7 separate regions of the Homo sapiens genome follow, and regions 1, 2, 3, 4, 5 and 6 are each linked to region 7. Evidence: promoter capture Hi-C in 16 types of primary human blood cells and fetal thymus (Javierre and others, 2016). All regions are on one chromosome and are shown on one strand. The core of a region is centred on a gene start or on the middle of the fragment in contact, and the rest is flanking DNA. Distances in the headings are between cores, read along the strand shown. Region 1 overlaps STARD4-AS1 (STARD4 antisense RNA 1). Region 2 overlaps PGGT1B (protein geranylgeranyltransferase type I subunit beta). Region 3 overlaps LOC105379129 (a long non-coding RNA gene). Region 4 overlaps PGGT1B (protein geranylgeranyltransferase type I subunit beta). Region 5 overlaps CCDC112 (coiled-coil domain containing 112). Region 6 overlaps PGGT1B (protein geranylgeranyltransferase type I subunit beta). Region 7 holds the start of YTHDC2 (YTH N6-methyladenosine RNA binding protein C2).

Region 1 (2,700 bases), core at 22-2,521, 2.0 Mb before region 7:
TATAAATTCTAGAGAAGGAACTATATACTCTTTGATTCAAAACTTTTGTTTCTGAGACTTTTAAGAAAATAAAAAAGAAAGGGTAAAAAGAACCCAAGTTCATCTTCATCTAAGAATTGTTTTTAGTAGCATAAAAATTAGAAACTGCAAGTCCAAAAATACGTGATTAAATTTCCATTTCCAATCAAGAAGCCTGACAAAAGACATTCAAAGTATATTATCTGACCACAATAGAATTAAATTAGAAATCAGTAAAGTAATCTGGACAAAACTCAAATATTTAGAAAGAAAATTACACACTGCTAAATAACCCATGAGTCAAAAAAGAAATAAACAAAAAATTAAGATTTTTAAAAACTGAATGAAAATAAAAAAGACATATGAAAATCTATTGTTTACGACTAAGGCAGTAATCATAAGGAAATTTTTGCTCTAAATATCTAAATTAAAAAAGAAGAAGTCTCAAGTCAATGACATCAGCTTCCACCTTAAGAAAAAAGAATTTCAAGTTCCTTAAAAGATACAAACTATTCTACTAAGCTCATTCATGAAGAAATAGATAACCTGAAGAGCACTATATCAATGAATGAAATTAAATTTAGAGCTTTAAAACTTTCCACGAAAATTCCATTTTCAGATGTCTTCACTGGTGAATTCTATGAAACATTTAAGGACGAAATAATAGCCTTGCAACCCAAACTCTTCCAGAAAATTGAAGTCTTCCCAACTCATTCCACGAGGCCAGCATTATTACATTAAAGCCAGAAAAAGATATTATAAGAAAACTACAGAACGTTATTCCTCACGAACGGAGAGACAACAATTCTTACCAAATTATAACAAATAAAATAATAAACAATTTATTAAAAGGATAATACATCATGACCAAGTCGGGTTTATCTCAGGGATGCAAGGTTAATTTAACATTTGAAAAACAATCAATGTAATTCACCATGTTGACAGACTGGGGAAAAAAAAAAAAGAGATGACGAAAAAGCATTTGACAAATGCCCAAAATCTAATCCCAATAAAAACAGTCAGCAAAATAGGAATAAAAGGAACAACCCCAACCTGATCAAGGGCATCTACGAAACTGTACTGTTAGCGTCTTATTAATGATGAAAGATGAAATGTTTTCCCCTAATATGAGGAAACAGGCAAGGATGTCTACTCTCTCCCTTCTATTCAACATTGTCCTGGAGGCTTTAGCCAGTCCAGCCAGTCAAGAAAAAGAAATAAGAGATATCCAGATTGGACATAAGAAAATAAAATTTTCTTTATCCACAGATGAAACGATCATCTACCTAGAAAACCCTATGGAATTTATATATATGTATTACATCTAATAAGTGAGTTTAACAAAGTTGGGAGATGCAAGATCAATATAAAAAATCAAGTCTGTTTCTATATACTAGGTACATACATACATACATAATTAAAATTAACATAATACCATTTATACTGGCATAAAAACATGCCATTAAATATGCATATTAGGGATAAATATGAAAAAAATGAACATGGCCTGTATATTGCAAACTAGCAAACATAATGAGAGAAATTAAAGTCTAAGTAAATAGAGATAAATGGCATGTGTTTGGATAAACATGACTAAAATATCAATTCTCCCTATTTGATCTACAGATATAATGAAATCCCAATTAAAATCTCAGCAGGCTCATCTGTAGATGTTGACAGCTAACTCTAAAATTCATGTGGAAATGCAAAGGGCATAGAATAGCCAAAACAACTTTTAAAAAGAAGAACTAAGTTATCTAACTTTTACTTCCTGTCTTCACATCTTGGTATAAAGTTACATTGATCAAAATTATGATATTCAATCAAGATAGACAAATAGGTCAATGAAATAGCCCAGCAATAGACCTATACTTACATAATTAACTGATTTTCAACAAAGACATAAAGGCAATTTAAAAATATGAGATCGTATAAATTATTTTGTATAGGATGCAGGTATTAAATTTTGCTATAAAAATGCACATGTCAACATATCGAGATTTTCCTGATATATTAAGAGAAGAGTATAGGGTCTTAAACAGTAGGTAAATTATTATTCTATTTTTTAACGGGATCTATATTTTTTCAAAAGGATGCATATATACACATACACATATACAATAAAAATAATAGTAAGAGCCTAGAATTTTTATAATTTTAGTTTTGCTTTTAGTGTTTTTGCTTCTATTTTGTTATTTATTTATAATAGACATGTACTATAATAAATGACAAAACCGAAACATTAAAATACTCTATAATTATTATATAAAATACAGTAAATATTGTTTTGGGGGAAAATTTATGTGTGTGGTATGAAGACTGAAAGATATATTCCAAATATTAACAAAGAGAGAGTTACAGATAGTCTTTTAGCTTTGTGTCTTCCTTGGTTTCCAAATATTTCACAGTGGGCACACTTGCTTTGAAAAATTATAAAGGCTATAAATATCATTTTTAAACTCTCAATAGTTCCATATAACCGTTGAGCTAAAGATCTAACTTCTTCATCTGACATGAAGATCGTACATGAACAACATGGCCCAATCTGACCTTCCTGCCTTTCCTCTGTCCCCACGCGAGTGCCCCCATTCTCCGCCTCATCACATCCTTCTGCTGACTCACCCACACTTCCTCTCCTCACTCCATTGCATTGCTGCCTCCACCCATCCTGCCGTCCGCTCG
Region 2 (2,700 bases), core at 185-2,684, 1.7 Mb after region 7:
AACAGCCTAAAATATTCTAACAGCCTCAAAATAATCTATAAAATGAAAAACTTCATATTTGGGAAATAATAAACCTGGAATGCAGAAGTTTTATTTCTCCTTTTATACAGAGATGACACAGTAGAGCAAAGGATAGTTCTGGCTAAGACTAAGCTTTCCTTACTAATGCCAATAAAAAGATGAGAGAAATAGTCTCACCAAAGATAACATAATCTTCCAGTTTGCGTGTCAGGACTCTCTACTAACTCCTGCTAGAATAGGCTGTCAATATTCGACTTTCAGATTTTACTTATTTTTCTTTTAAGTCAACCAATCCCTTTCTTATAAAGATACTGCTTCTTTAAATAAAATCATATTAAATTTTAATGGCCAAGGAGTCAATCTGCACTTTAAGATTATTTCTTTATTGTGTTCTGATACACAATTTACCAAAAAGCAATCTTAATGCTCTTATTTACAAATTGTTGGCGGAAGAGATGAGACATACACTATAATACAGCCCTCATGTACCAGCAAAAACAACCTAAATAGTCAATTTTATCAACAGAACTCACCATACTCCTTCTAATATAGGTGATGGCTTTTTTCATATCCATGCCTGACCAGTTGTTGAGCATATAGCAAATACAGGAAGCACAGTACACAAATCGCATGTCATTTTCACTGCCTTCAGGTACTGCACAAAAACTGAAAATAATAACAACAATATGATTTTCTATTAACACTGGACTCTGATTTTTTTGCATGGGGGTTAGAAACACCTCCTGCTTGTCTTTACTAACAGAAAAATCTGTTGATTATTCTACTTTTATTATTCAATATTCTACTTTTATTATTCAATAAAGAATAAGACTACTAACTTGAATAATATAAAACTTTCTCTAAATCATCATTCTACTACAAACTTTTGACTTCTTGGTATTTTTACACACTACCATGTTACTCCCTCCTGGATGCTTACTCAGCATAAGCTTATTTGATCCTAGCCAGGGACAGCTGCAGTATACTGGCTTGAGAATGGCAGAAAAAGTAAAAGGTAAAACCTGAGACCTACTGGGTATACGAAATTTCCAAGCCCAAGTTTTTCTATGTGAAATTTCTTCTAAATGTATACACAGATAACCATTTAATCGATTGATCATATTGTATTTTAATTTTACATATTAGTTGTAGAGAGGCAGCAATCTATGTTGTGTATGTATTTATAAACAAGAATAAGGAAGCAATAATCAAAGACTACACTGAAATATTGAGACATAAGTCATATATGTACTGGATGAAGTAAATATTTAGTTTCATAGGGTTTCCAATTAATGTCAATTTATTCTACTTGTCTACATTTATTTTTCCCTCATCAAGAGCAGTGTTTTGAAAACACTGACGGGAAAACAGAGCTATTAGTAGATGGAGCACAAAGAGTTAACAGCACAGCAGGATTTGTTTGCAGTCTTTTCCTTAATCTTTTCACTACTGCTTTATCGCTTCTCAGACTTAAAATTTTTTTTCTACCTTAAAGCTCCAGGAAGATTCATCTTTAGACACACTATGTGAATCACCAAATATCAATGAACATACGAACTCCTTTTTCTATCCTTTAAAAATGTCATGGAAACTACCTACTCTGGAATACAATATTCAGTGTTCACCCCTTTCTTCCCTAATCACCATAAAGCAAGGAACTGAGGTCCAGACTAAATGTATGCGTACTTCAAAATATCAATTTTTCATCTAGAATGTAAATTAGATTCCAATCCTGAAATTATTCAACCATTTATTTATGTACCCATTGTTATTAAGAAGGAAGATAAAGGTGTTTGGCTATTGTAATTACTATTATTTTCACTCACAGAGGAAATCTGAGGTCACTTTTTTGACTATGCACTTAATTATGTACCTCGTAAGCTTTAGGTGGGGTTCTAATAGAGTATGATCCTCTAAAGATCTAGTATAGTACTGTATCCATTTTTTAGTTCCAATATATTTTTGTTTATTACAAAAAAAGTAACAAAGAATCACTCATACCTCCCATCTTCCAGCTGAAGGGCTCTCAAGCCCGCTAAGCAAGCTTCTTTATTTACTCGGCTTAAGTCGTCTCCAAGAATAACTAAGCATGAGAGGCCAGTGTAGGTCATTGCAATGTGGCCACTATCATAAGGATGAGCTGTTCCAGGAGCCTAAATACAAAATTAATATAGTACTAATTAATGAAGTGAAATGAAAACTTATTTCATTAAGAAATCTGACATAAGGTTTTAGTAAATAGTAAAATTAAATATGGCTTATACTGATTTGTATAGACATCTTATTGAGAAAAACAAATCTCCATTTTATGTATGTCTCAATATGAATATGATTGCACAGGCTACTTAATCTTTAAATTCTTTGATACCTCAGGCATTATGGAAGTAGTTATGATATTCAGGTAAAGCAAATTATGTATTACTTATTTTTTTGGATTTTTTTTTTTTTTTTTTTTTTTTTTTTTTAGTAACAGGGTCTTATCTGTCACCCAGGCTGGACTGTAGTGGTGCAATCATAGCTCACTGCAGTCTCCAACTCCTGGGCTCAAGTGATTCTCCGGCCTCAGCCTCCAGAGTAGCTGGGACTACAACAGGCACAAACCACCATGCCTGGCTAAATTATTTAAACCTCAAACTTAATCACGCTATCACTTATAATTTAAGTCTTATAAAGTCAGAA
Region 3 (2,700 bases), core at 37-2,536, 1.8 Mb after region 7:
ATGCAATGTTATTACACACTTAATAGACTGCAGTATAGTGTAAACATAACTTTTATATGCACTTGGAAACCTTAAATTTGTGTGTAATATTTCCTGCAATGTTTCTGAGGGATGTCTGTATGCCTTTATGTTATTATGAGGAAGGTCAGCCTTTTTCATAAGTTTAAGGACAATTGCTTGCTTTTTTTTTTTTTAACTGTCTCTTTACATCTTTTCCCAACTGGTATTTGGTGCCTTTCTTCCCAGTTTTTAAGAACTGTTTGTTAATTAGGAGATTATGATATATTTTGTGGTATAAATTGCAAATATTTCTTTCAGGTTTTAAATTTGTTTTATGACTTTTCCTTTTTTTGCTTTGAGCAAGTTCTTTTTATTTTTATGTAGTCAAATTTGTCAGTCTTTTATTATTTTTTTCAGTGCTTTGGGATTTATAATCATCTCTAGAAAGGCGTTTCTCACTCCAAGTTTATAATGAAGTGAATTCCTGTTTTCTTCTGTGGTTTCACCTTTCACATTTATATATCTGGATTATTTGGATTTCTTTCTGATATTCAGTGTGAAATGTGGACCCAATTTTTACTTTTACCCAAATGACTATCCAGTTATTTCGACATTATTCTTTAAAAGCATATGTTTAGTGGTAATTTTTGGTGCCACTTAACTTTTCGTATATAATTGTCCTATTTCTCCTGAATTTTTCTATTCTCTTCTATCATTGTATCGGTCTACTTATGTATTAATGAATAGATGCTTTTTAAATTATAAGGACTTTATGAAATGTTTTAATAGCTTATTGGACTAGTTTCTCTCATTCTTCTTTTCCAGAGTTTTCTTAGCTTTCCCTGCTTGCTCATTTTCCACAGAAACTTTGAATCAATAGTCTACTTTGGGGAAAAAAGCTTGGCATTTTCATTAGAATCACATTAAATTTATTAACTTGGAAAGAATTAATATGTGTATGAGGTGCCGTTGTCCTATCCACGAACAAAGCATATTTACATTTGTTTACATTTGTTCTAGTCCACTTTTGCATCTTTGAAAATTAAAGATTTTAAGTTTATTCTTGAGTTTAACAATATTTACTGCAACTGTAAGCTGGATTTCCTCTTCCTTTATATCTTCTAGCTTATTTTTCTTTGAATATATAAAGACAATCGCTTTTCTTTATTGCTACTTGGGTCATTTTTCTTAATTTTGATATTATTTTTAGAATGATTATCTTAGGGTTTCCATTTATAGTATATACTCTCTGAAAATAGATATCATGCTATCTCTTTCTATCCAATTCTCAGACTTACATTCTAGACAGGAAGAAGGAAAAGGGCTTTCATAGTTTGGGTTCCCATGAAATTAGATCATGAGACAAGGACTTGGGTACAGGAGATAGGTTGTTTGGGAGGTGATCTCAAGAAGCCAAGTGACAGCGTCGAGAAAGTGAAATAGGAAAGGGAGAAAAGCCAACAGAGGGTGTTTTAGTGGTTAGTGCTGTGGGCAACTGGGCCTCACTCCAGCTGGGGACCTCTGAGGAATCTTATAGGACTGTCCTCAGAGTTTCCCTACTAAGGGGTGGGAAAGCTGAGTTATCTATCTACCAAATCCCAAACCTCACTCGTTGAGCGTTGCTGTGGGGACATTAAACACCAGCTTTTATAGGCTGCCCATACAATGGCTAAACAAGCTTCTAGAGAAAGCTGTTAGGTCAAGAAGCGGAACAGCATGGACACAGGTGGAGGCCATCAGTGTAGATGGGTGAACTCAGAGGCAGGACATCTACAATGTGTTGCTACAAAGGCAAAGAGCAAAAGGAGGATGACAGCAGACCTGCCACATTTAAAAAAGCTTTCCTATGAGTCCTCCCTACCCAATGCCCCCCTTTTAGGTATCATTGACTATAACTGAATCACACAGCCACCCCTAGCTACAAAGCATCCTGAAAATATACTTTATTGGGGTTATTATGAGGATGAGTGGGTTAGTTGCTAGCATTGCCTGCCATACCAACCTGTCTTTTTAATTGTTCTTGTTTCTTGGTTCATAAGGTTCATAAAAATAGGCTTGGGTGCAAGCCTATTTTTCCTCTAAGTCTACATATTATTAAAATACTATTTGAAAATATTTTATAGTCAGTTTTACTGCACATTATTATATTCCCTCCCAATCTTCACTTAATTTTTTGAATTCTTAATCTGTCTTAGTCTTCTGATACTTATGTTTCTATTTTTTCTTCTTGTATCTCCTGTAGTCCTTCTAATGAATGTTGATGCTGCGTTATTTAGGGTATAGAATATATAACTTAGATTTTCATTGTGGATTACACCTGTTATTATTGTAAAGTATACTTCCTGTTTAATTATTTTTGCCCTGAATTCAATCTTATATTTAAAATCACTGTCTGGTGATTCCTTTTTGTTCACATTTATTCTGGTACGCCTTTGCCCAGCCTTGTAGTTTCAACATTTTAGAATCACTTTGTTTAGGCCTGGCTCTCATCTGCACCATATAACTCAGTGTTGTTTCACGACCAATATGTGAGTCAAGTCACAGCCTTCTATTTTTTCTATTCCATTTCATTGTCAGTTTTTTGGAAAAAAAAAATACTCTACATTTACTGTCACCAGTTCCTGACTTTTCATTAGCTTCTCAAACCTTCCTTGATCCTGAAGTACTCAGTAGCAGTGTGTTGAATGCAGAAAGGGGGTA
Region 4 (2,700 bases), core at 18-2,517, 1.7 Mb after region 7:
TTTTACCTCTGAAAGTTCCTAAACCATATGCAGTACTATCCTAACATTGTGTTAAATAAAAGGAGCTTATGCAAAAATAATCCATTCTGGAATGCTGTGCCATATTTAATCCTCCTATTTAGGGTAATGTCAGTCATTGTAAAAATATCTGATCTGACAATAAAAACAAACTCACATTCTATTTGGTTGAAATAATATGAGTGCTCATACCATGACAATTCTGCACTGGCTCACTAGTTTCCCATCTTTCAGGGGGCAGCGATCCTCTTCTATTAAAGTGGCCAATGAAATCACATGGCCATTCCTGCCTAGGAGTCTTATGTAGACTTCTGAAGAGCTCAGAGCTTTGCAGTTATAGGAACATTAAAAAGACAGTTTTGTACCAGTCAAAATTTTTTTCTATTTTTGAATTGGCCGACATTTATGGCCTTAAGAGCTATTAAAGTTCAAAACAGGCTGGGTGTGGTGGCTCACACCTGTAATCCCAGCACTTTGGGAGGCCGAGAAGGGCATATTCCTTGAGCCACAGGAGTTCGATACCAGCCTGGGCAATACGGTGAAGCTCCATCTCTACAAAAAATACAAAAATTACCAGGTATGGTGGCGTGCGCCTGTAGTTCCGGCTACTCGGGAGGCTGAGGTGGGAGGCTCACCTGAGCCTAGGGAGGTTGAGGCTGCAGTGAGGCATGATTATATCACTGCACTCTAGCCTGGGCAAAATAATGAAACCCTGTCTCAAAACAACAACAACAAAAAGTTCAACACATCTTACCACATCAAACTTTGTCAAAAGAGTTAAAGAAAAAGCTTTACTTACAACAGTATCACTTATTTTTCAAAACAGAAATGACAAATAGCTGTGCTTACTCAATGCCATTGTGAAAATGTTATTTAACTAATGGAGGCCCATGTTGATCACCTTTTAGGCCTTTTCAGAAAATACTTAGGTTTCTTCTGGCTCACTTTCCTTTGACTTTCAGACTATAAAAAATAAACTTGATTTCACCTGTCATATTACATCCATATAGTTATTCTAAAACTACAAAGGGTACAAAGCAACATTAAGCTTTGTTTTCTAGAAACTAGGAAACTTTTCTAGGAAAAAGTACAACAGAAAATATATATCTATAATAACATAAAATAGAACTGTGTAAAACTAAAATCTCTCTGGGTAAAGTAACAAATAAAACTTATTTGTTTCTCAAAAAGATTTTTGTAACAGCCAATGAGATCAGAACTCAATTGTTTGAAGCCTCAAATTGTGTTTTTAAAAAAACTCCTTATCTGTAAGTGGCAACGTACAAGCACTTTAGATGTGGAACTATATGTTTACTCCATAATAAAGCACTTTAGATGTTGAAATATATATTTACTCCACAATAAAAGGTTATTCTTTTGAAGTTTCTTTCATAAATGTATATAAAATCCCTTTGTATCAAATTTGCCACTAAATTCACTAGAATGAAGAATAAGCTTAATTTTAAAGAATCTTGTTAAAATGATTAAAGATTCTGGGACCAGATCTTTACACATAAATTCAATTTAGCAAAGCCCTTCTATGCTTTCTATTGCATACTCTGAAAACATTGTAATGTATCTGTAAAAAGTAAGTAGTACATCCAAATATTTACACAAATGTTAAAGTTAGCAACTGAACTCTCCGGAAAAAGCCTCAAGAACTTTCTTTTAAAAAAGCTATTGGAAACACTGAATGTATTTCAAGTATGTTTATACAAGAAATGTTTCCTAAGAGACTGTCATTTCCCTACTCCCATTATTTGTTAAAACAGTACCCTGCACTGGTTTAAAAAATGGAATGAAGACCAAAATAATTCTCAGTTTTGAGGCACTAGAGATATCAAAAATTTCAAGATATTATTTTGCTTGAGAAATTAACTTCTGAAGACACACTTTGGCTTACGACTTTGAAAGCAATGTACACTTTCTCTAAGAAGACATGTTTTACTACTGATTGATTGATTGAGACAGAGTCTCGCTCTGTCGCCCAGGCTGGAGTGCAATGGTGAGATCTTGGCTCACTGCAACCTCCACCTCCTGGGTTCAAGCAATTCTCCTGCCTCAGCCTCCTGAGTAGCTGGGACTACAGGTGTGCACCACCATGCCTGGCTATTTTTGTATTTTTGGTAGAGACGGGGTCTCGCCATATTGACCAGGCTGGTCTTCAACTCCTGACTTCAAGTGATTCACCAGCATCAGCCTCCCAAAGCTGGGATTACAGGCGTGAGCCACTGCACCCGGCCATTTATTTTATTTTATTTTTTGAGATGTACTCTTGCTCTGTTGCCCAGGCTGGAGTGCAGTGGTGTGACCTTGGCTCACTGCAACCTCTGCCTCCCAGGTTCAGGCAATTCTTCTGCCCCAGCCTCCCAAGTAGTTGGGATTACAGGCACCCACCACCACGCCTGGCTAATTATTGTATTTTTAGTAGAGGCAATGTTTCACCATGTGGCCAGGCTAGTCTCAAACTCCTTGCCTCAAGTGATCCGCCCACCTCAGCCTCCCAAACTGTTGGGATTACAGGCGTGAGCCAAAACTCCTGGCCTAGGAAGCATGTTTTATATGAAAATATAGGCAAGTAGGGGTGTAAGGAAATATTCCTGCTCATTTCAAATACAAAAATTGATTTCATGAGCTCCTTATTTATATTCTGATTCAATCACACATTCCAACCACAGCAGT
Region 5 (2,700 bases), core at 43-2,542, 1.8 Mb after region 7:
TAGGGTTTTGCCATGTTGCCCAGGCTGGTCTTGAACTCCTGAGCTCAAGTGATCTGCCCACCTCGGCCTCCCAAAGTGCGTGAGCCATCATGCCCAGCCAAAATTAATTTTCTTAATGTGTTTCTTTCTCCCAGGTGGAAATTAATATGAATATTTCTCCACTAATCTTGGATTTAATAAGTGGTGGAGCATCACTGGCCATTTACTTAATTCACACAACCTGAGAGGCAACTATCTATACCGTAGAGTTTCCCAATCTTTTCCACTTTGCCATACATAGAGAATTTTTTTTTTTTTTTTGAGACAGACTCTCGCTCTGTCACCCAGGCTGGAGTGCAGTGGTGCGATTTCAGCTCACTGTAACCTCCGCCTCCCTGGTTCAAGCAATTCCCCTGCCTCAGCCTCCCGAGTAACTGGGACTACAAGCGCCTGCCACCATGACTGGCTAATTTTTGTATTTTTCATAGAGACAGAATTTCGCCATGTTGGCCAGGCTAGTCTCAAACTCCTGACCTCAAGTAATCTTCCCTCCTTGGCCTCCCAAAATGCTGGGATTACAGGCATGAGCCACCGCATCTGACCGCCCATAGAGAAAAATTTAATATTCATAAGACACATGGGGGTAGACAGATGAGACTGCCCCAGAGCCCACCACACTTCTCCAGAGGCTGAGGGGATCATGTCTTAGCATGTGTGTTTAGGTAGCTTCTATTGTTTGTGAGAAGAAATAATGGGTAGATAAAGATATCAAATAGATTTCAGTCCCACCTGGCAACTCTAATGGACTGAGTCCTGTGTTGAGGACTGGGAAGTTCATCTAGGCTCTGGTTGCAGATGGGGAAAATTACTATGATAAAAAGAAACGTCTGCCATGGACACAGGATATGCTACAACTTTATATCACTCAACAGTTTTTAGTTCATCACAAACTCAACTTACTTTCTGTTTTTCCTGGATTAGAAATATTAACCTATAAGGATATTCAAAATATGCTAATTAATGGAGACAAGTCGACAAAAATGAAAACAACCTCCTCAATAGAAGAAATGCAAATTAAAACTATATCACAGTAACACTGCACACCTATCATATTGGCAAAAAAATCACAAATTTAATATATTTTGTTGACAAAACTGTGAGGAAAACATGTCTTCTCATACATTGTTGGTGGAACTGTTGTCTACGGAGGGCAATTTAGCAATATTTATCACATTTGTAAATTCATTTATCTCTGACCCAGTATTTCCTTTTAGGAATTTATCCTGAAGATATACTTACAAACAAATAATGTTGACCTATGTGGGTATGGTAATTAATTGCAGCACTGTTTGTTATTAAAAAAAGATTGAATATAACCTAAATGTCCATAAATATGGGCAGGTTAAATAAATCATATTACATTCATACACTGGAATATGATACAGTGGTACTCTGTTCTACGTACTGACAGGAAAAGATCTCCAAGATAACCTCTTTTTTAAACAAAGTTTTTGTAGGAAAATGTTAGACATATTCAAAAGTACAGAATGGTAAATTGACACCCATCATATGATATGAATTTTATCTCACCCTGATTCAGCAGTTTTACCTCTCATTTCATCTATCCATCTATCTTTGCTTTGCTCAGTTTAAGTATTTTCAAGTAGATCCATTACATCTACCTTTGCTTTGCTTAGCTTAGCTTAAGTATTTTCAAGTAAATCCATCACATTATGCAATTTCACCCCAACAAACTTTTGTGTGTGCCTCTAGAGAGTACTGATATTTGACTTACCTAACTATAATGCCATTATTGTGCCTAGCAAAATCTACAATTCCTTGTTATCTAAGACATACACTTTAAAAAAAAATGCAGAGCAATGTGGACGGTATGCTACCATTTATACAAAAAAGGAAAAATCTGAATATATATTTCTTTATAAACACATAAAATATCTGGGGAAGGATACATAAGAAACCAAAACTAGTGGGTTATCTGAGTGGAAAGGAACTGGGTGGCTTGGATGAAGAGTAAAACTGAGACTTTCCACTGGGTACCCTTTGATTTGTTTTGATTCTTGAACCATGTAAATATATTACCTATTTTAAAAATTTAAAAAAAGATATTATAGATTGTGGTTTTTCGTTTGTGTTTATGTGAATTGTTAGATAGAAACACTCTTACAATGAGTTTTTCTAATATTCTTTCAGTGAGTTTTTCCAATGCCCTAAAACAGATGAAGAAGCCTTCTCAGAACTGTAAAACACACTGGTTGCTGCATCTATGGATATTAACCATTTGGTGGACATTACCCTATCTAGAAAGAAACATAAAACAGAACCTCTAACCTAGAATCTAATTCTATCTAGAGTAATGCATTTTGGATATTTTAAAGAACTGTATTTTTTCAAATTCTGAATACTAAAGATATATGTATTAGCAACTTCAAGCATACAATACGTTATTATTAACTATACTCACCATGCTGTACATTAGGTCTCTAGATCTTTTCTATTTTATAACTTGTACCCTTTGACCAACATCTCCCCATTATCCCCACTCCCACCTCATCACCCCCAGACTCCTGGTAATCACCATTCTATTCTCTGTTTCTGAGTTTGACTTTTTTAAGATTCCACATATAAATGAGATCATGCATTGTCTGTCTTTCTGTGTATGGCTTATTTCACTTAACATAATGAAAATCTCAGCTCACTTTT
Region 6 (2,700 bases), core at 167-2,666, 1.7 Mb after region 7:
CACATGACTCTGGGCAGGATACCTAAACTTTTCTAATCAGCTTCCAATAATTATTTTAATCATTACTATACCTTATACAGTAATTGTGCTTACCTACTCACAATAAGCACGCAATAAATGGAAGCCATTATCCTTGGTCTTTGCCATGATTTGGAGGGACAAGAGTAACAACGACTTTAGGATCTAATCACAGTCTATAACACTACAGGCCTTTTCTATAGACTCTTGGTTGTAACCATTTTCCCCAGAGGAATGTGCTTCTCCAAACACAATAAACCTTTAGACATGGGAAAAACCTCTACATAATAGCAACAAAGTGTGAAAATCACTGCCCTTGGTGGTAATTATGTCTCATGAGAGAAGGTCCACTTTGTTTGTATGCACTCAAATATTTACTGAACTAATAAAGGACCTGCAATACTACATCTAACCCTCCCGGAGAGCTCTAACAGGGTTTTTTGGTTTTGATATAATACATAAAGTAAATGATTATATTTATAGTCAGGTACAATTAAGCATCTACTAATACAGTTTATTAAAGCGTTATTAAGGAAAAGGGCAAAAAGAAGACAGAGACAAAAGTGGAGGAAAACATGAAGGACTTGAGGTCAGACAATGGATAAAACAAAGATCTTCCTGTCAGTAAAAGCTATGTAGTAAGAGAATTTATGCAAAAGGCTATAAAAACAAGTTGGCATTTTTTTCAAAATTAAGAAATTTAGAAATGATCTAGTCCATCTCTTTGATTTTCTAACTGAAGAATATAAAGCCCAAAAAATTCAAGTAATTTACTTGAAATTTCAACACTAGACAATCAAAACTACTCAAGAAGTCTAAGTCCCAAAGTGGTATTCTCCACAGGGGTGCTTCTCATTAGAATCTGCTTAAAAACTGCTCATTAGAATCTGCTTAAAAACAAACGACCAAAACACCACCAACATAACATAGAGATCAAGGTCCTACTTCACAATCAAATCTATGGGTGTAAGGTGGGGTCTGGGCCCTTTCGGTTTGTTTTTGTATTTAACTTCCCAGGTAATTTTAATGTGCAGGCAGGTTTCAGAAGCACTGTTTGAGAACAGTGGTTCTCTACTGGGAACACTGACCCTAACATAATATATCATAATCAAACATTCTTGGTTGTCACAGTGGAGGAGGGAGTTACTGGCATCAAGTGGGTAAAAGCCACGGCTGCTGCTAAATGTCTACAATGCACAGGACAGGTCCATACAACCAAGAATTATCTGGCCTAAAATGTTAATAGTGCTGAGGTTGAGAAAACCTGCTTTAAGGTCATACTCTTATCTGTATACGTTATCTGAATGATCTGTTTGTCATGTTACTTGCTCCTGGATATGAATGCACTCTACATGTAAGTGCCAAATACAAGAAATCAGCCATGTGATGGTATTTTAAAATCTTGCATACTTAATTATTAAGGGCTCCTGAAAGTCCAGCATTTTCAACTCATAGGTGAAGACTTAGGGTGAGACCATAAGGTTTATGAGAGTAACAGAGTTATGGTGAATGGCTTATGTTTATAAAAAGAGGTCCCATCAGAAATGCTTGGCAGACAGAACCAATAAGTCACTTTGGGGCAAATATCTGGCCTCCTTTAAAATAGTCTGGGAAACCATTCCTCTTCCAATCACATCAGAATTCTCAAGTAGTCCTAAAACTGAAAGAGAGAGAATTAAAACAAGCCACAAAAAACACAAAGGAATTTTGGGCTGTGGGCCTCCCAGAGAAATAGTATAATGTAGGGTTTTATGGTTCCTAGATGACTTCTACTTGGGAATAAACTGCTGGGCAACCTGACTCAGCACAGGTGTATAGAGGGGTAATTGTGCGAACACACGCACCTAAAATCAAGCCAATGAAGTTATTTTTACTTTTTTACTTCTTTCAGAGAATATCTGTTTATTCTGTTTCTTCTTTTCCCTAGAACTCAATCTGAATCTGCAGCCTGAGAAGTGTAAATAAGCAAACAATATCTTTCTGTTCACCCCTCTTCTCTCACTCTGAACAATATGTATAAGAAGTTTATCTTACAAGGATGAAAAAGTAACATCCCCCAACCCCCAATCAAGTTGCTTTACCAAAGAATCAATTCACAGACAAGAGGGTTAACCTAAGTGTCTCCAAAAGATGTCAAATATTCCAGGCTTAAGACACGCATACCCCAAAGATTAAATAAGAACAACAAGAAGGATGGGCGCAGTGGCTCACTCCTGCAATCCCAGCACTTTGGGAGGTCAAAGCGGGTGGATCAACTGAGGTCAGGAACTCGAGACCAGCCTGGCCAACATGATGAAACTCCATCTCTACTAAAAATACAAAAAGTCAGCTAGGCGTGGTGGTGGGCACCTGTAATCCCAGCTACTAGGGAGGCTGAGGCAGGAGACTCACTTGAACCCAGTAGGTGGAGGTTACAGTGAGCTGAGGTTGCAGTGAGCCGAGATCGTGCCATTGCACTCCAGCCTGGGCAACAATAGCAAAACTCCATCTCAAAAAAAAAAAAAAAAAAAAAGAATGAAAAACAGTCTATAGTCTGGACAGTGGAAAAAAGAACTTAGTCATACTGATATAAGAAATATACTGAAAACACTAATTTATGAGAGTTGACTAGATTCCCAAACTTTGGATCCCTTGTCCTGACCCTTTCTGGTGCAACCCCATCCTTTACCAAGTGTCTTAAAC
Region 7 (2,700 bases), core at 78-2,577:
TGTCAGTGGGCTAGCCTAAGCTTCTTTACTTTGTGGAAGAAGAATTCTCAGCAGCAAAACAGGCTAAGCCTTAATGCACAAACACCTTTCAAGCCCCTGCTTATCTCGTATTTGCTGATGTCCCAATGGCCAAAGCAAGTTACATAGCCAAAGACAGAGTCCATGTGGGAAGGAAGAATACAAGGGTGTGAACAGAGGAATGTGTGATTCATCAAAGGCCATACCTTTGATGAATTCAACAATTTACCATAATGTTACAAAAAAAAATCTTCCCAAATCTCAGCAGTTTACCACAACTAAGAATTATTTCTTACCCATGTCATATTCCAATGTGGGTTGGTGAGGACACTCTATCACACTCGTTCAGGGAATCGGGAACCTGTTATCTATCTAGTGGTTCCACCGTTGTCTAAGAACTTCCAGAAGACCAGGAAAGACAGAGAAGGGAAGATTCAAGGAAGGTGTTATAGACCAATCCTGGAAGTGGTATACATCAGTTCCAGCAACATTCCAATGGCCGGAACTCAGCCATGTGGCCCCCAGCTAACTGCAGGAGAGTTGGGAAATATAATGCCTAGGAAGAAAAGATACTTCTTGTCACCAAATATTCCGCCCCCTTCTTACCACACACAGAATACACATATACCCTCCCCAGACACCTGGAATTCTATCTAGTCACTGCATCCAGGATCTGTTGTTGATACACAGTCCTCTTTATTAGATCCAGATGTATATCCTCATTGCCAGGTAACTCATGAACTATGTAAATATGTACTACATACCTGCCCCCACTCAGCTACCCTGTGTAGCGTGATAGAGCAAGGGTGGCATACTTGCATTAAAATCTCCCATTCAGAAAAGGGAAGAATGCAAGACACACAACAGTGGCTCATTCTTTAGTATATGTATTTTTTATGATATTTTTCCAAATATTGCATGGGAAATATATACACTAAAAATTATTCGTTTATCTGAAATGCAAATTATTAAGCATTCTGTATTTTTATTTGCTAAATCTGGCAACCCTCCTCCCACTAAAATATAAACTCCATGAAGGTAGGAACCTTGGCTCTCTGGTTCTCCAATGTACATCGAAGGCGTGGCATAATGCCAGGTCCACAGTAGAAGCCCATACATGCTTACTGCAGGAATTAATGAAGGACTAAACGAAGTAGCAAGTGAGTGAATAAGAAGATGAGGAGCGACCCTTGGTGGGCGGCGCGGGAAGAGAACCGCACCATAGCTCCGCAGACAGCCTCCTTTAGGCGCGCAGCGGCGGCCGCGCTGAGGTCACGGGCGCCGGCCCTGGTGACGTCATTACGCCCGCGCTCCTCGCCTGGCCGTGATATCAATGGCGCAGGCTTCACTTCTGCTGTGGCGGTGACTGAGGCCTTTCTGGTGACCTCAGCCCAACACAGGCCGTCTCCGGAGCTTCCCGGTAGTGGCCCCGGATTCCCACGGTCTTTGTCATTGGCTGTCAGCTAGCAGGCCTGGCCGCTCCCGTGCGGAGAGACCATCTCTTCAGGGCAATGTCCAGGCCGAGCAGCGTCTCCCCGCGGCAGCCGGCTCCTGGCGGTGGCGGAGGCGGCGGCCCCTCGCCTTGTGGCCCTGGGGGCGGCGGCCGGGCCAAGGGGCTGAAGGACATTCGCATTGATGAGGAGGTGAAGATCGCAGTCAATATCGCGCTGGAGCGCTTCCGATACGGGGACCAGAGAGGTGAGGTTCCGGACAGGGACCATGCTGGCAGTCAGGATACCCCCCTCACCCCAGCGCCCCCCAAACGGCGGCCCACCGAGTGATGGGGGTGCCTCCGAAGAGGGAGGGAAGACCCGGGCCACCGTCCGGGGCGGGCCTCAGCGGCGGCACCCGGGTCTGGAACGCGGCTGTTGGCCCTGCGGTGGAATGCGAGGTGCTCTGCGGATCAATGGGGTTATGGGCACTTTGCTCCCTAGCTGAAAGTGTTTTTCCCCCGCGTCTTTCAGCAGCCTTGGGCGGTTAAGCCACCGTGTTTCAGATATTGGTTAGCCCTAACCCTTTTTAAGGGGGTGTCACCTAATTGTGGCACGTTTAAGCTACAGATGTAGAAGAGCAGAAAGAAATCAAACATATAAATAAATGCACCAGCAATACGTTTGGACCCTGAAGCATCACGCTACCCACTTAAATTAAACTTGTTTGGCACACGAAGCATCTTCCACACCTCTTGAGGTTAGATAGCCACTTGTCTTGGGTCATATAATGCAGAACCAGCAACTGACCTGCGGTGACCTGTGCAGTCTGTTGAGGGCTCATTCGGACCTGCTGGCTTAGTTAGGGGACCTCTTACTCTGGAATCTTATAGTCCAAAACGGGGAATGTTCTAGACAGAGAGATTCTAAATTCACATTAAAAAAAGAGAAAGCCTCAGCAATATATAACAAATCCCTCTGAAATAGTGAAATACGAATTCTGTACAGTTTTGAAAGCAAAGACAATGGAGTTTCATGTTGAGAATTCATAATATTTGAACATATCTCATCATTGAAGAAAATAAACATTTTGTTAACTAAACAAGTAGGGACCAAGTTAAATATGTTCAGTCATTATACCAACTCAAAATTCCAGAACAAGTAAGAGGAGTCGTTTTTGGTGAATATCAGAGGCCTTTATCACATTTAGGTTTAATACATAGCTGTCTTTTTATTAATATCAGAATTCTGA

The links. The method cuts DNA at HindIII sites, captures the fragments that hold promoters and counts their contacts. A CHiCAGO score of 5 or more calls a contact.
Region 1: a fragment that was not itself captured here is called in contact with the fragment with the promoter of YTHDC2 in region 7 in 1 of 17 cell types (naive B cells); the score reaches 6.3 in naive B cells.
Region 2: a contact is called between a fragment that was not itself captured here and the fragment with the promoter of YTHDC2 in region 7, in 1 of 17 cell types (activated CD4 T cells). The highest score is 6.6, in activated CD4 T cells.
Region 3: a contact is called between a fragment that was not itself captured here and the fragment with the promoter of YTHDC2 in region 7, in 2 of 17 cell types (naive B cells and total B cells). The highest score is 5.9, in naive B cells.
Region 4: a fragment that was not itself captured here is called in contact with the fragment with the promoter of YTHDC2 in region 7 in 1 of 17 cell types (naive CD8 T cells); the score reaches 5.8 in naive CD8 T cells.
Region 5: a fragment that was not itself captured here is called in contact with the fragment with the promoter of YTHDC2 in region 7 in 1 of 17 cell types (total B cells); the score reaches 6.0 in total B cells.
Region 6: a fragment that was not itself captured here is called in contact with the fragment with the promoter of YTHDC2 in region 7 in 2 of 17 cell types (fetal thymus and non-activated CD4 T cells); the score reaches 6.2 in fetal thymus.

What each region holds. Positions count from the first base shown.
Region 1 is chr5:111,527,774-111,530,473 of GRCh38, forward strand. The region is part of intron 1 of STARD4-AS1 (STARD4 antisense RNA 1); the gene reads left to right. Among named protein-coding and RNA genes, the nearest start is that of STARD4, 17 kb to the left of the region's middle. RefSeq lists an enhancer at 2,271-2,700. The HindIII fragment of the contact is 5,472 bases long and covers 1-2,700 here.
Region 2 is chr5:115,235,836-115,238,535 of GRCh38, forward strand. It overlaps PGGT1B (protein geranylgeranyltransferase type I subunit beta), which reads right to left. Exons shown (of 9, transcript NM_005023.4): 4 at 2,023-2,174; 5 at 555-687. Among named protein-coding and RNA genes, the nearest start is that of PGGT1B, 26 kb to the right of the region's middle. The HindIII fragment of the contact is 931 bases long and covers 970-1,900 here.
Region 3 is chr5:115,301,342-115,304,041 of GRCh38, forward strand. All of the region lies in intron 1 of LOC105379129 (a long non-coding RNA gene), which reads left to right. Among named protein-coding and RNA genes, the nearest start is that of CCDC112, 6.0 kb to the left of the region's middle. The HindIII fragment of the contact is 779 bases long and covers 898-1,676 here.
Region 4 is chr5:115,213,035-115,215,734 of GRCh38, forward strand. All of the region lies in intron 8 of PGGT1B (protein geranylgeranyltransferase type I subunit beta), which reads right to left. Among named protein-coding and RNA genes, the nearest start is that of TRIM36, 44 kb to the left of the region's middle. The HindIII fragment of the contact is 407 bases long and covers 1,065-1,471 here.
Region 5 is chr5:115,280,742-115,283,441 of GRCh38, forward strand. All of the region lies in intron 2 of CCDC112 (coiled-coil domain containing 112), which reads right to left. Among named protein-coding and RNA genes, the nearest start is that of CCDC112, 15 kb to the right of the region's middle. The HindIII fragment of the contact is 3,968 bases long and covers 1-2,700 here.
Region 6 is chr5:115,255,022-115,257,721 of GRCh38, forward strand. All of the region lies in intron 1 of PGGT1B (protein geranylgeranyltransferase type I subunit beta), which reads right to left. Among named protein-coding and RNA genes, the nearest start is that of PGGT1B, 6.5 kb to the right of the region's middle. The HindIII fragment of the contact is 3,451 bases long and covers 1-2,700 here.
Region 7 is chr5:113,512,367-113,515,066 of GRCh38, forward strand. YTHDC2 (YTH N6-methyladenosine RNA binding protein C2) reads left to right here and starts at 1,328. Exons shown (of 30, transcript NM_022828.5): 1 at 1,328-1,716. The coding sequence starts at 1,530. LOC124901046 (a long non-coding RNA gene) reads right to left here and starts at 1,292. Exons shown (of 2, transcript XR_007058905.1): 1 at 1,065-1,292; 2 at 1-574. RefSeq lists enhancers at 1,084-1,133, 1,130-1,631 and a silencer at 1,584-1,813. The HindIII fragment of the contact is 3,291 bases long and covers 19-2,700 here.